Linked DNA regions of Homo sapiens: region 2 is linked to region 1. Evidence: promoter capture Hi-C in 16 types of primary human blood cells and fetal thymus (Javierre and others, 2016). All regions are on one chromosome and are shown on one strand. Each heading gives the region's core, a stretch centred on a gene start or on the middle of the fragment in contact. The rest is flanking DNA. Distances are from core to core; before and after follow the strand shown. Region 1 holds the start of DENND3 (DENN domain containing 3). Region 2 overlaps SLC45A4 (solute carrier family 45 member 4).

Region 1 (2,856 bases), core at 357-2,856:
ATTCCAGTTGATTCGCCCTGCCCTCAAAAGACATGTGTCACACCAAGCAACTAACACCCATGTTGTAACTGCCCCAGAGGAAAGACGTTCAACGGCTGAGGAGACCACAGCGGCAACTAGGTCACTTCCTATTCGAAGAAAAAGGAGGAGATGCCATCTGGCAAATTCGAGGTAGGGAGACAAATCAATCGATGACGTTGCGAGGAGACAGAGGTCAAACGGGATCTACTGACATGACAGGGCGTTGAAGGGAAGGAAAAGTTGAGGGAAACGAGGAAACTATTTCCATAGGAGAATGCTTTTTCACTGAAGTCGAAACTGGCTTGGTACTGACGCCCAGCAGGGGAAACTCCCCGGACACTCACAGACATTCATCTGGTTACTTGCAGGAACATCTGCCTTTCCTGGTGACACCCTCTGCCCTGCAGTCTTCATTTTCCCTGGATAGCCCAGCGTCATTTAAATACTCAGAAGCCTCTCTGCCTTTCTATGCTGTTGTCTGCAAAGAGATGAACGGACCTGTGCAGACGGCTGGCCAGTGACGCCGGGATCTCTAGGTAACATGACCCAGTCACGGTGTCACAGACAGGCGGACCAGGAGGAAACCAGAGACACAGATGGATTCCAGGGAAAGCCAGCGTTACAGAATTAAGAAAAGCTGGGGAAGAAAAAGGAAAACGAGAATTTCCAAAACTGCCGCTTTCCCAGCAGAAGGGAGATGAAGTTGTCACTTTGGCTGCGAGGGTGCAGAGATGGAGGAAGGGTTGGGGGTGGGGGTGGTACCGCAAGGGAGAAAAATAGCTATAGGCTTCATCGCAAAGGGGTTCATGCAGAATACGCGAGGCCGGCGGCTAACTCTAAGATTGCTCTCTCGTTATTCTGTGCCTGGTGCAAAACCCACTACTCAGGGGACAACACATCCCAGCATAAAGAATGAAATCATTTCAGCAGCGAGGGCTGGGCCCGCTAGACCGTGAGGCTCCGGCGGCTTCCGCCCGTTGTCTGGTGCACCCCACCTTCAGAAGCACCTGCCCAAGATGGGAGCGACTGAAGAGAGAGGCCCCAGAGACTCTCCGAGGGGCGGCACCCCCAGATTCCCGGCCGGCGGACCAAGTTCGCAGCTCTCAAAAGACATGTCTCACACCAAGGGCCCCGGGCGGGGAGAGGAGAGAAGAGGGGAGGGGAGCAGGGCGCTGCTCCAGGGCACCTGCCTGAGCTCGGGCGCGATCCCCGGCCACAGGCGCGCGGGGTCACCGCCGGGGGACCGGGACTCAGCCCTCGGAAAGTCCGCGCCAACCCACAGGGCACCCGGGCGCCCGCTCTCCGACTGCTGTCCCGGCTGCCGACTCGTGGCCCACGTCCGCCTCAGTTTCCCCGCCCCTCACCTGCTCGAGACTTCGGAGACTGTCCCGGGGGGCGCCCAGCAGCGCGCAGAGCTCCAGCAGCCCCGAGGGCAGCGACAAGTGCGGCGACGCGGCCTCCGCCATGGCTGCCCGCCGCCCGCCGCCAGTACCGCACTCGGGCGCCTCAGCCGCGCAGTCGCCCGCAGACCCCTGGGGACCAGCCGCGCCGCCTGGGGGCCGGGGGCGCTGCGAGCGCCGTCTGCGGGGCGGGGCTGGAGGCGGGGCCTGGAGGGGCGGGGCCCGAGCCGAGGCGGGGCCTGGAGAGCCCCAGAGGATACCGCGGGGAGACAGAGTTTGGGGGCGGGGCTTGACTGGGCGGGGAGGTTCTGGGCGGGGCCTGGAGTGGCGTGCCCGGCCCTAGGGACCGGGACTTGGGGGCGGGGCCGGTCCTAGGGCGGGTGCTGCTGGAGACCCGCGCGCGGTCGTCATTTCCTAACCCGCCTGCGGGCCCTGGCGCGTGCGCGGCGTCGGAGCAAGCGGCCCCTTCCTTCGGCCCCGCCCAGCCCCGCCGGCCGCCCGCTCCCTGGGGAACCGAGGGAGGAATGGGCGGGGTCCTCAGGTGCCCGGCGACGTCATCCAGCCCCCAAGGCTCCAGGACGCAAAGGGTCCCCTGATCTGGCAGTCCCTGGACCTACCCTGGAGAGCGTGGGGGGACAAAGGCCGGACGCGCCGCCCGCTGCCGCCTCCAGGAAGCCCTCCCTTGCCAGGACAGTGGAGTTGGCCGGGTGTGGACAGCAGGAAGGGCCGGCGGGAAGGGGGGGTGGAAAGAGCCACTCCTGGTTAATAACTCTGCGGGGTTAACCTAGGGCCGGCCATACTCAAGTACGGACTTGAGTAAAATTCAGCAGGAAAAGGAGCAGGGTGGGCGCCGCTAGAGGGAGGCTTCAGGACTGAGGGTCAGAGGCCCAAGGCCTGGCAGGGCCCTTCCCTGGTCAGCTCCAGGCTTGGCCTGATGCCCGGTGGGCCACGGGCCTCTTCCAGCCTCAGGCTGACCCCAGAGAAAGAGGACAGCCCACAAGCCCGGGAGGCCGGCTTGCTGCCTGGTCATTGCTGCAGAGCCTGGAGGGGGCCTGCGCTCAGTCCCCGCTGACCGTCCCCTCCCTTGACCCTGCCATAGCCATCTGTGTAACCCAGGGGAAATTATTCCAAAGGGACTTCCACTTCTGATAATCTATGATTCTATTTTCTAAAAAACAAAACTCTAAAATGCTTAATGTCAAACATCTGTCATCAGCTGAACAGGAAAAGGAACAGTAAGTACAAAGCAAGGCAACATCAGAAAAGGGAGCCCTGAGGAATTTCTCCCTCCTTCCCTGAGCCGGGTGAGGCCGTGACTGCAGCCTGACTCACAGGTTTTATTTCACTTATTAACCTAAAGATGGTGAGGATCTGCTGGTTCTCCCCCAGGCCTGGAGGCTGCCTACCATCGGTGGCTCTCATCGGTGAGCTGAGG
Region 2 (6,451 bases), core at 1,729-4,228, 130 kb before region 1:
CCAATTTCTTGTTTTTGTCAGGTTTGTCAAAGATTAGATGGTTGTAGATATGTGGCATTGTTTCTGAGGGCTCTGTTCTGTTCCATTGATCTATATCTCTGTTTTGGTACCAGTACCATGCTGTTTTGGTTACTGTAGCCTTGTAGTATAGTTTGAAGTCAGGTAGCGTGATGCCTCCAGCTTTGTTCTTTTGGCTTAGGATGCGATGCAGGCTCTTTATTGGTTCCATATGAACTTTAAAGTAGTTTTTTCCAGTTATGTGAAGAAAGTCATTGGTAGCTTGATGGGGATGGCATTGAATCTATAAATTACCTTGGGCAGTGTGGCCATTTTCATGATATTGATTCTTCCTACCCATGAGCATGGAATGTTCTTCCATTTGTTTGTATCCTCTTTTATTTCATTGAGCAGTGGTTTGTAGTTCTCCTTGAAGAGGTCCTTCACATCCCTTGTAAGTTGGATTCCTAGGTATTTTATTCTCTTTGAAGCAATTATGAATGGGGGGTCACTCATGATTTGGCTCTCTGTTTGTCTGTTATTGGTGTATAAGAATGCTTGTGATTTTTCTACATTGATTTTGTATCCTGAGACTTTGCTGAAGTTGCTTATCAGCTTAAGGAGATTTTGGGCTGAGACGATGGGGTTTTCTAGATATACAATCATGTCATCTGCAAACAGGGACAATTTGACTTCCTCTTTTCCTAATTGAATACCCTTTATTTCCTTCTTCTGCCTAATTGCCCTGGCCAGAACTTCCAACACTATGTTGAATAGGAGTGGTGAGAGAGGGCATCCCTGTCTTGTGCCAGTTTTCAAAGGGAATGCTTCCAGTTTTTGCCCATTCAGTATGATATTGGCTGTGGGTCTGTCATAGATAGCTCTTATTTTGAGATACGTCCCATCAATACCTAATTTATTGAGAGCTTTTAGCATGAAGGGTTGTTGAATTTTGTCAAAGGCCTTTTCTGCGTCTATTGAGATAATCATGTGGTTTTTGTCTTTGGTTGTGTTTATACGCTGGATTACATTTATTGATTTGCGAGTGTTGAACCAGCCTTGCATCTCAGGGATGAAGCCCACTTGATCATGGTGGATAAGCTTTTTGATGTGCTGCTGGATTCGGTTTGCCAGTATTTTATTGAGGATTTTTGCATCAATGTTCATCAAGGATATTGGTCTAAAATTCTCTTTTTTGGTTCTGTCTCTGCCAGGCTTTGGTATCAGGATGATGCTGGCCTCATAAAATGAGTTAGGGAGGATTCCCTCTTTTTCTATTGATTGGAATAGTTTCAGAAGGAATGGTACCAGCTCCTCCTTGTACCTCTGGTAGAATTCGGTTGTGAATCCATCTGGTCCTGGACTTTTTTTGGTTGGTAAGCTATTGATTATTGCCACAATTTCGGAGCCTGTTATTGGTCTATTCAGAGATTCAACTTCTTCCTGATTTAGTCTTGGGAGGGTGTATGTGTCGAGGAATTTATCCATTTCTTCTAGATTTTCTAGTTTTAAACTTTATTTTTAAATTATTTTCTGACTTCCCCTAAAGTGCTTACAGAATCCCCAGGGCTTTGCAGAAATAAAATGTTTGGAAGCAGCAGCTGCACCAGGTGGCATCCTGCTGTGAGCTGTTGGGTGTTGTCTTCAAGATACTCACTTTAAAACTGGGTTAGTCCAATGGGTGCATATCTTTGAGGAAATTAAGGTTGGTTAACATGAGGTGATGTTGTTGTAGTGGTTAATTTAGCCTTGTTAAGATTACTGTTTGGACAGTTGCCTCAACTTTGCCTGCTCTTAGAAGCTCGGAAGCTTGCATTGGTGTTAACACCCTAGGTTGATAACATTCCTTGGATAAGTTCATGAAGGTATGAGACATTTGGTAGATTTTTGTACTTACTGCTACTTTAAACAAACTCAAGATGTCTAAAGATATTTGTTGTTTTCATCAATATAGATGCCAGTGAGGTCACCTGTGTAAAATCCGTGTACTGTGCCCCTGCCTCTGCCCTGCTTGAGGAAGGGAAGCCAGCTGTGTCCATGCGTAGACTACTTGCGTAACAGGTGACACCGGTGCCATGCTCATGCTGTTTCATGAGGACTTCAGGGACGCATAAGCCGGTGGCTGGTCACCCGGGGCACCTGGGCGTGACTTCAGCATAGCTGGTGGGGTGGGGAATGGTTTTCCAGTGCAGATACCCCATAGTAACTATCAGCTGATCAGCCTTATTCATTCATTCGCTTCATTTGTTCATTTAACAAATCTTGTCAAGCTCTTGCTGTGTGGCTGGAAACGGTGCATATGGAAGGGAAAGCCCAGGTTCAAGAAGCATGGACGTTGCCCATTGTGGACCGATGCTGGGAGATCTGGGGACAGATGAAAGCGGGGGATGAGGGTCTCTTGAGGGGGCTTCTCTCACTGCTTGGCAGGGTTTTGCCACCTACCAGTAGCTGTCATAATCCTTTGTGCAAGATGGGGATCACCCGTTCTAAAGGGGTCCAGTGAGCCCTGAGAAGAGTCTCTAAAAACAGGGTGGTTGAGCTGAAGGTGGGAAGGGCAAGAGGAGATGCACGGGAGGAGATGCAAGAGGAGATGCATGGGAAGGGCAAGGGAGATGCATGGCCGGTGGTGTGGGCAGAGCCAAGCTCAGGGGAGAGACGGAAGGGTGCAGGCTGGCGGAGAGGCAGCCTGCTCCGAAGGGTGATCCCTCGACCAATGGGCAGCACTGCCCAGGCATGGTTCTGGAGCTGGGGGGCCTGAGGTGGGGCCTGTGTGCACGGCTGAACGTGCAGCGCCATCACTGGCGGGCTGGGTCAGCAGTGTCCCAAGGCGTGAAGCCGTCTTGCTGGCCCCTCAGCCTGCTGAGCAGCGGTGTCTGGCGGCTTGCCCTGACCGTGGCCATGCGGATACTCTGGGAGTGTGGGCTAGATGCCTTTCCCACCCAGATGCTGGTCTCCCTCCTTTTCATCTTCTCTTTGGAAGGCCAACTTTACACCAGTTGTTAGAAGTTTGCTAGGAAAGCCCCAACATGTCAGAGGAACTCCAGTGAGGCAGCTGACTTTCCATGTCAAGGGAGCGCTCCTGCACCACTCTGTCCTTCTGTGGACTTGTGACTCTGTTACTAAGGACACAGGGCCTTTGCTCCCTGAGGGCTTAGTTTTTTGAAATCCTCAGCTATTCCCAGGTAAAAAGACATCTTGTTTTAGAGTCTGTTTTTTTTTTTTTTAAAAAAAAGAGGTCTCACTGTGTCTCGCAGACTGGAGTTCAATGGCATAATTGTAGCTTACTTCAGCCTTGAACTCCTGGGCTCAAACAATCCTTCTGCCTCAATCTCCTGAGTAGATGGGACTATAGGCACATACCATCACATCTGGCTAATTAAAAAATAATAATAATAATTATAGAGATGGAGTCTTGCTGTGTTGCCCAGGCTGGTCTTCAACTCCTGGGCTCAAGCGATCCTCCTGCCTCAGCCTCTGGAGTAGCTGGGATCACAGGTGTGCACCACCATGCTGTCTTTGAAAAACGGGTCTGACTGTTGCACAGGCTGAATGAGTCTTTAGCTGATCCCTGAGACCTTTTGGTGGCCATCCCTGTGGCCCCAAGGTTGGAGTCCATGCTCCATGTGAGAGGCCGATGGTTGCCTGGGGCTTTTCTCTGTGGCTCATCAGTGATTCTTATGCAACCTGCTCTTTGCAAACAAGGTGCTGAGAAATACCACTGGCTGGAGCGCAGCTGAGCTGCTTGGGAAAGGAATGGCCTGTAGCGTTGCCACCTACACTCCTGGCCTCGGGTCGTTTAAGTCAGGACTGGACAGTTTAGGTGGCACGGAGCAGAGTGAGGCTGGGGGGTGTGGGAGCCAAGCAGGGCTCCACCGTCGCCTTCTTTCCTGTTAGAGAGACTCTGGCGACTTCCTGACCCTAGGCCAGGCCGGAGGGCAGCAAACTGTGACCCAGGGGGCAGATCCAGCGCAGAGCTGGGATTTACAAGAATGACCAGCAAGCTAAGAATAGGTGTTGTGTTTTTAAAGGATTGTTAAAAAAAAAAAAAAAAAAAAAAGGAAGAAGAAACAAAAAAGGAGAATGTACAACAGAGACCATCTGTGGCCCGAAATCCCGGAAATGTTCATCATCCAGCTTTACAGAGAAAGCTTCAGTGTCTGGTCTTGTCGGTGGACTCGGAATGGAATAATCAAGGGGTGAAGCATTTTTAAAGAAAGCCGTTTTCCTATTTAGTAATAACCCTAGAACAGAGTGTCTCCCTCTGGTGCTGTTGACGTTCTGGGCCAGGGCCTTCTCTGCTGGAGGCTGTTCTGTGCACTGTGGTGAGTTGAAAGGCATCCCTGGCCTCCGCCTATAAGATGCCAGTACTGTCCCCTCCTCCCCCTGTTGTCGCAAGCAGAGATGTCTCACGTCATTGCCAAGTGTCCCTGGAGGGTGCAGAGTTGCCCCTGGCTGAGAATCACTACCTTAGAATAATTCATATATTACTTATTACAGACATTTATTGCCTAACTCTCAGCTCTTACTGGAACGACTCTTAGGAACAGAGACGGCTTCACTTCAGGCACAAGTCTCCGAGGACACTGTAATGGGACAAAGAGCCGATTGAGCAGGCATGAAGGGTCTGATGTTTATAATTAAGTCATTAGGATTTCTTAGAAAACTAATTGCTTTTGTTCCTGCCCAAAACCCAGCTGATGTTTTCAGTCTTTGCAGACATGTCTGGGTGTTACTTCTTCTCACAAAAATGACTCTTCTTACCTGGTGGAAGAAAGCAGTTAAAATCATTGACCCTATTCTGGTACAAGATTGACAGACTGAAAACAGGGAAAATCGTGAAATTTTCTGTTAGGAATGATTCCGAAAAGGTGGGGGCGGAACAAGAATAGCAGAATGTTGGTCCTTATTAAACCTGGGTGGTTTCTTACACTATTCTGTTTACTTTGCATATGTTAGAAATAGTTCTGGCTGGGTGTGGTGCCCCACGCTTGTAATCCCAGCACTTTGGGAGGCCGAAGCAGGTGGATCATGAGGTCAGGAGATCAAGACCATCCTGGCCAACATGGTGAAACCCTGTGTCTACTAAAAATACAAAAGTTAGCTGGGCGTGGTGGCATGTGCCTGTAATCCCAGCTACTCAGGAGGCTGAGGCGGGAGAATCGCTTGAAGCTGGGAGGCGGAGGTTGCAGTGAGCCGAGATCACACCACTGCACTCCAGCCTGGGCAACAGAGCGAGACTGTCTCAAAAAAAAAAAAAAGTTTCATTACACAGTTTTTTGAAAAAATATTGCAGTAAGGTGACAGTTTGGAAACTCTTGTTTTAATTGAGATGTTTCTACGGTAGAGGACATTTGGAAAACTTGAAAGAATTCTCGAGGGCTGTCGTGTGGAATCGTAGCGACGTTCAGGGGACGTAAGAAGCAAATACATAGGTAGCACCACTTGAACCTTTGGTTCTTAAGGAATTAGTAGGCATTCTGGTTTCCGCTGCAGCGTGAAAGAAGATGTAGGGAAGAGCTGGGACGTAAGAGCCAGGCGCACGGCTTCCTTCCAGAACCTCCTGTACAGCGGAGTCTTCTCCCTCCTGGGGCCCACGTGCCAGGGACCCACCTTCTCCATCAGGGCTGTGTGAGAGAGGAGCCGAGTGAAGACAGCACCTCGAGGTTTCTGGTCTCCTCTGGGGAGAAAGAGAGGAGGAGCTAATTAAGACCACCTTTGGTTCGGTGGAAAGTAATGAGAAATATTTTTGTTGAAACCAGTTGTTGGAAAAATTCTCAGTAAGGTATTGGCCCATAGACCTACCTTAATATAAACTGTGAACACCATTTAGGTGTGTTTTTAGGGGCTCTAACACTTCAGTTGAACCGAACCCCATGTCTGGAGACCTAACTCCAGAAGTCCTGAACTTGGGGTGTTCCACATCCCCGATCTTATCTTACCTGAGGAGAGATTGACCTCATTTCCTAAAACATTTCCAAGGTGGCATTTCCAGTTAGCTTATTGCTGCTTTATTGTATGTGTTTGCCCAGGTGGGGAATTTGTCACCAAGCTGGGTTTGTCACTGGAGGCAGGGTGGTGGAAAGCCGAGGGTTGGGGTGATAGGGTTCCGTAGACCCTGGGAAAGCTGCGTGTGGGTTGGGAGTCTCCGAACCCCTAGGTACTATAGTCAGAGTTTGGCACATGCGTACATTTTTTTCTGGAGAAAAGGTCTATAATTTCATTTTATTCCCAAGAGGTTTTATAACCTAAAGGCCAATACCACAGGAGTCCAGGTGCCTTTGGGTAGACTTCGAACTCCCCCCGGACAGAGAATCATGCTATGCTCATTCCACCCAGCCTCCTACTTTTCATTTTTCTTTTCTTTTTGTTTTTTTTGTTTGTTTGTTTTTGTTTTTGTTTTTTGAGACAGGGTCTCACTCTGTTGCCCAGGCTGGAGTGCAGTGGTGCGATCTCA

What was found. Contacts are between HindIII fragments. The CHiCAGO score rates a contact against its expected background, and 5 or more counts as called.
Region 2: a contact is called between a fragment that was not itself captured here and the fragment with the promoter of DENND3 in region 1, in 2 of 17 cell types (neutrophils and monocytes). The highest score is 9.3, in neutrophils.

The regions. Positions count from the first base shown.
Region 1 is chr8:141,127,339-141,130,194 of GRCh38, reverse strand. It overlaps DENND3 (DENN domain containing 3), which reads right to left and starts at 1,606. Exons shown (of 23, transcript NM_001352890.3): 1 at 1,386-1,606. The coding sequence starts at 1,487. It overlaps DENND3-AS1 (DENND3 antisense RNA 1), which reads left to right and starts at 54. Exons shown (of 2, transcript NR_183310.1): 1 at 54-171. RefSeq lists enhancers at 515-1,345, 2,179-2,856 and a silencer at 1,201-2,060. The HindIII fragment of the contact is 7,380 bases long and covers 1-2,856 here.
Region 2 is chr8:141,255,664-141,262,114 of GRCh38, reverse strand. All of the region lies in intron 1 of SLC45A4 (solute carrier family 45 member 4), which reads left to right. SLC45A4-AS1 (SLC45A4 antisense RNA 1) reads right to left here. Exons shown (of 2, transcript NR_161376.1): 2 at 5,298-5,674. Among named protein-coding and RNA genes, the nearest start is that of SLC45A4-AS1, 4.3 kb to the right of the region's middle. RefSeq lists an enhancer at 3,342-3,863. The HindIII fragment of the contact is 2,339 bases long and covers 1,809-4,147 here.